Linked DNA regions of Homo sapiens: region 2 is linked to region 1. The links are contacts of gene promoters, found by promoter capture Hi-C in blood cells and fetal thymus (Javierre and others, 2016). All regions are on one chromosome and are shown on one strand. Each heading gives the region's core, a stretch centred on a gene start or on the middle of the fragment in contact. The rest is flanking DNA. Distances are from core to core; before and after follow the strand shown. Region 1 holds the start of CD7 (CD7 molecule). Region 2 overlaps FOXK2 (forkhead box K2).

Evidence for each region. The method cuts DNA at HindIII sites, captures the fragments that hold promoters and counts their contacts. A CHiCAGO score of 5 or more calls a contact.
Region 2: a contact is called between a fragment that was not itself captured here and the fragment with the promoter of CD7 in region 1, in 2 of 17 cell types (naive CD8 T cells and activated CD4 T cells). The highest score is 5.5, in naive CD8 T cells.

Annotation. Positions count from the first base shown.
Region 1 is chr17:82,316,340-82,319,039 of GRCh38, forward strand. CD7 (CD7 molecule) reads right to left here and starts at 1,269. Exons shown (of 4, transcript NM_006137.7): 1 at 1,075-1,269; 2 at 328-642; 3 at 1-70. The coding sequence starts at 1,156. The HindIII fragment of the contact is 24,830 bases long and covers 1-2,700 here.
Region 2 is chr17:82,536,620-82,539,425 of GRCh38, forward strand. The region is part of intron 1 of FOXK2 (forkhead box K2); the gene reads left to right. Among named protein-coding and RNA genes, the nearest start is that of FOXK2, 18 kb to the left of the region's middle. The HindIII fragment of the contact is 2,008 bases long and covers 448-2,455 here.

The DNA of each region.
Region 1 (2,700 bases), core at 19-2,518:
GGTGGGGCAGGGAGGGCAGAGGCCCTTGGTGGGGCGTCCGAGCATCTGTGCCATCCTTGGGACTGTTCCTCTGAGAAGGAAAAAAGAAGGAAGGGATTCTCCCGGTGGAGAACCTGTTAGAGCCCCCGGGGTTTGGGATTCGGGGCAGGGAAAGGCTGTGGAGGGGAGGAGGGGCAGCTATCTAGGAGGCTGCTGGGGGCAGTGGGCTGGGAGCTGGAACAGTTCAGGCACATGTAGGAGGGAGGGTCCCACGACAAGGGCTGGGGGAGCAGAGCCTGGCCAGCAGCTGGGGTTGGGAGGGGGGTCTGGGATGGGCACATTCCCTACCTGTCACCAGGACCAGGGTGCCGGAGCCGTAGACATTGACCTCCGTGATGGCCTGGCAGGTGTAGGTGCCAGTGTCCGACAGCTGCAGGCGGTGCATGGTGATAGTCAGGTTGTCCTGGGACCCTGAGAAGTCGATGCGGCCCCGGAACCGTCTGTCCGTAGTGGGCACCACCCCGTCCTCGTAGTAAATGATGTCTTGGGGCTGTGGCCCGAGCTGCCTCAGGTAGATCCCACGCAGGCCCCCGCTGGTGGAGCAGGTGATGTTGACGGAGGCTCCCACGGGGACAGTCGTGCAGTGGGGAGACTGCTGCACCTCTGGGGAGGACCTGGGCTGTCACCATCAGTCTGGCCAGAAGGACAGAGAATGTCCTCCCTGCAGGGGACAGTGGTGGGGATGGTGGGGCCCTGAGACAGCCCAGGGCTGACATGTCGCCAAAGACACGGTGCCTTACGGGGCATGGAGCAGATCTGGGCACCGGCTGTGGTGTTGGGGGAGGTGCTGTCCTCGTGTTCCGAGACTGTGGGCTTCTTCCTCCCAAAGCAGCGGCCCTGCCTGGACAGCCCCGGCCACTCCCCACCGGGGTCCACCCTTTTTCCTTCTCTTAAATGAGTCCTCAGACACTGGAGGCCGCTCAGCACCCCACCCGCTTCCTGGGGGCTGTGCTGTGGCTCAGACTGGGGGCTCTGAGCTCATGGGGCAGGGAGAGCTCTGGAGCTGTGGCCATGGAGAGCCTGGGAAGCTCTTACCTTGGGCAGCCAGGGCCCCAGGCAGGCCGCGAGCCAGCGCCAGAAGCAGGGGCAGCAGCAGGAGCCTCGGAGGCCCGGCCATGTTCCCCACACCCAGCTCTCCCAGCCGGGCGAGTGCAGCTGAGCCTCTCTGGGTCTACAGGACCCCACAGAGAGCAGCACACAGGAGACCGCAGGCGCTCAGAGCTCAGAGAGGGCTTCCTGGAGGCGGTGCCTCAGACCAGGGTGGTGCTGTGGGCCCGGTGGGAGGGGCGGTCTCACCTACCCCTCCCCAGCACTGCCTCCCTGAGAGCTGCCCTGAGAGCAGGGCGTCCCTGTATCCCCCACTGCCCCTGCATCTCCACAGGGAGGAGGTCAAGGCCTGGGGCGGGGCAGACCAGAGGACAGAGAAGGGACTCCCTGGCTGGGGACGGGTGGCAGGGTCTGGAAGTGAGCGGCAGAGCTGGCCCCCAGCCTGCCTGGTCCTCTGGGGTACTTTCTGCTGGGACCCAATTTATGCCCAGAAATCTGGAGCCACCCATGACCCATGAGTCACCCACACAGTGCAGAGGAGCACAGGGCAGGCCAGAATTGGCACCCCCTGGTTTGGCCGTGGGGAAGGAGCCTGGGCCTGCACCCGCACCCAACGCTGCAGCCGACCAGCTGACCGTGGCTCTGCGTTCCATGTCCTGGAGGCGGGAGGTCTGAGGTATGGTCCAGGCCTGAGGTTTCCCGACCTCCCTGGGAGGAGTGCGTCAGGCCGCAGTGCCCAGCTTCAGGGGCTGAGGGAGACCTGTGCCTGGGCTCTGACCCCAGGGTGACTGAGTCCTCTGGGAGGGGGCACTTCTCTGTCCTGAGGGCCTCCCGCCACAATGACGAAGCGTTGACGTTGGTGCCCAAAGCCAGTAGGTGCAGCACATGAGCAGGAGTGTGTGGACACGTGTGTGTGCAGAGACGGGTGCGTATGGACATGTGTGTGCAGAGACGGGTGCGTGTGGACACGTGTGTGTGCAGAGACGGGTGCGTGTGGACACGTGTGTGTGCAGAGACGGATGCGTGTGGACACGTGCGTGTGCAGAGGCGGGTGCGTGTGGACGTGTGTGTGCAGAGACGTGTGCGTGTGGACGTGCGTGTACAGAGACGGCTGTGTGTGGACACTTGTGTGTGCAGAGACGGGTGCGTGTGACTCCATGCGTGTGTGCAGAGACGGGTGCGTGTGGACACGTGTGTGCAGAGACGGGTGTGTGTGGACACGCATGTGCAGAGATGGGTGCGTGTGGACACGTGCGTGTGCAGAGACGTGTGCGTGTGGATGTGCGTGTGCAGAGACGGGTGTGTGTGGACACGTGTGTGCAGAGACGGGTGCACTTGACTCCATGCGTGTGTGCAGAGACGGGTGCGTGTGGACACGCGTGTGTGCAGAGACGGGTGTGTGTGGACACGCATGTGCAGAGACGGGTGCGTGTGAACACGTGTGTGTGCAGATGGGTGCGCATGACTCCACGCGTGTGTGCAGAGACGGATGTGTGTGGACACGCGTGTGTGCAGAGACGGGTGTGTGTGGACACGCATGTGCAGAGACGGGTGTGTGTGGACACTTTGTGCAGAGACGGGTGCGCGTGACTCCATGCGTGTGTGCAGAGACGG
Region 2 (2,806 bases), core at 202-2,701, 220 kb after region 1:
CCCTCCTTGAACTCTTGATGGGCTTGCCCTTGGCCTAGGGATCAGCCCAGAGTGAAAGCAAGCTCGAGGCCGAGGAGGTCTTCGCAGAGGGGGCCTTTTGCCCTGGGCATGTGTGTAGCTTTCTGAATTTTCCAGCACACACTGAGGCCTCTGAATGTCCTGATTTCCCAGAAACACACCCAGGTTTTCGCCTTAGGCAGTCTGTTGTATGTTGGGACTGTAATCTTCTGCCCCAGGCATCTGAGAGTTAAATGGGTTTGAAATGTTTTTAAGCTTTTTTTGGCCTTGGATCTGACTTAGGCAAAACAGAAGAGGAGTGCCTTGTGTCAGTCAGACTCCAGACACATTAGAACAGACACACACAATACATTTTGAATGAGGTCTCCAGCAGCTTCTGGTAGGCACTTAAGGTTAGAAAACATTGTTTAGGAAAAGAATAGAATATAAAGCTTAGCGGTTGGTTGTAGAAGGTTCTTGCTGCTGGATCCACTCAGCTCCTGGGCAGTTGGTGGGGGCCAGCCTCCAGCTGACCAGTGAGTGGGATGCTGGGCTGGAGCTGCTGGTATTATGTTAGGAAGGTTATTCCTGAGAAATTCAGATACTTGTTGACTGAATTGGTATGATGCTTATAGTCTTTCTTAAATGATTAAAGTTTAACATATTATTAAATTTAAAAATATTGTGAAATAATACTTCTTGTAGAACATTTAGACCGTAAAAGTGGATGTGAAAAATTATCCATTGCCGGGCGGGCACGGTGGCTCACGCCTGAAATCCCAGCACTTTGGGAGGCTGAGGTGGGCGGATCATGAGGTCAGGAGTTTGAGACCAGCCTGGCCAGCATACAAAAAATTAACCGGGCATGGTGGTGTGTGCCTGTAATCAGCTATTCAGGAGGCTAAGGCAGGAGAATTGCCTGAACCTGGGAAGTGGAAGTTGCAGTGAGCTGAGATCATGCCACTGCACTCCGGCCTGGGCGACAAGAGTGAGACTCCATCTCAAAAAAAAAAAAAAAAAAAAAAAGGCCAGGCACACGGTGGCTTATGCCTGTTTGCCAACACTTTTGGAGGCCGAGGCGGGCAGGTCACGAGGTCAAGAGATTGAGACCATCCTGGCCAACATGGAAACCCCATCTCTACTGAAAATAAAAAAATTAGCCGGGCGTGGTGGTACACGCCTGTAATCCCAGCTACTCTGGAAGCTGAGGCAGGAGAACCCCTTGAACCTGGGAGGTGGAGGTTATAGTGAGCTGAGATTGCACCACTGCACTCCAGCCTGGCAATGGAGACTCTGTCTCCAAAAAAAAAAAAAAAAAAATCCGTGGCCAGGCACAGTGGCTCTCACCTGTAATCCCAGCACTTCTGGAGGCTGAGGCAGGTGGATTGCTTGAGGTCAGGAGTTCGAGACTAGCTTGGCCAACATGGTGAAACCCTGTCTCTACAAAAATACAAAAATTAGCTGGGCATGATGGTCGGTGCCTGTAATCCCAGCTACTTGGGAGGCTGAGACAGGAGAATCGTTTGAACCCAAGAGGCAGAGGTTGCAGTGAGCCGAGATCGTGCCATTGCACTCCAGCCTGGGCGACTGAGCAAGACTCCGTCTGAAAAAAGAAAAAAAAGATATAGGCCGGGTGGGAGGTGGGAGGATTGCTGGAGGCCAGGAGTTCGAGACCAGCCTGGCCAACATAGTGAGACTTCTTTCTCTACAAAAAATTTAAAAATTAGGTGTGGTCGTGCATTCCTCCAGTCCTGGACACTTGGGAGGCTAAGATGGGAAGATCACTTGAGCCCGGGAAGTTGAGGCTGTAGTGAGCCATGCTCGTGCCGCTGCGCTCCAACCTGGGTGACAGACCAAGATCCTGTCTCCAATTAAAACAACATTAAGCTCATTTTGTCAAAGGAAAAATTACCGTCCTCGCATTTGCCTTCGTTGTTGCAGACAGAAGAATGCCCTTGTCCTCTGCTGGTGGACACAGTCCCCACAGGAGCCGCATGGGGTTTTTCTGTGTATCATGTATGGTGTAGAAGAGCAAAATGCTCTGCACCGTGTTTTATAGGGAATGAAAAAGAACCCCACCAAACTTAGGATGCATCTTTCCAGCCGGGCCCTTCCTCAAGCCCCTCACTGTCACCTCTGGCCCCAGGGCAGGCCTGGGGCTCACCCCTTGGACAACACTGAGGCCCAGCCCAGAGAAGGGACTTGTACCCTACGCCATACCCACAGCTCACAGCCACTCAGCCCAGCATGGGTTGCCCCAGCCAGATCTCCTTCCAAAACAGTTAGAAGAGTATTGATGAAGAGTCCTTCAGAATTTTGATTCTTCTTCCTCTCCTGGTTTATCTTCTGGTGGAAAGAAAAACACGTTTGGAATGTTTAAGACTGAGAGGTGATGGGATTTCTTTTTGAGGTAGAAAATGTGGTATGAGAATGGGAGGGAGAAATAGAAAAGTATTGAAGCTTTTAAAACTGTAAGGTGGCCGGGCGTGGTGGCTCAGGCCTGTCATCTCAGCACTGTAAGGTGGCCGGGCGTGGTGGCTCAGACCCGTAATCTCAGCACTGTAAGGTGGCCGGGCGTGGTGGCTCAGGCCCGTAATCTCAGCACTGTAAGGTGGCCGGGCGTGGTGGCTCAGACCCCTAATCTCAGCACTGTAAGGTGGCCGGGCGTGGTGGCTCAGGCCCGTAATCTCAGCACTGTAAGGTGGCCGGGCGTGGTGGCTCAGACCTGTAATCTCAGCACTGTAAGGTGGCTGGGCGTGGTGGCTCAGGCCTGTAGTCTCAACACTTTGGGAAGCTGATGCGGGAGGAT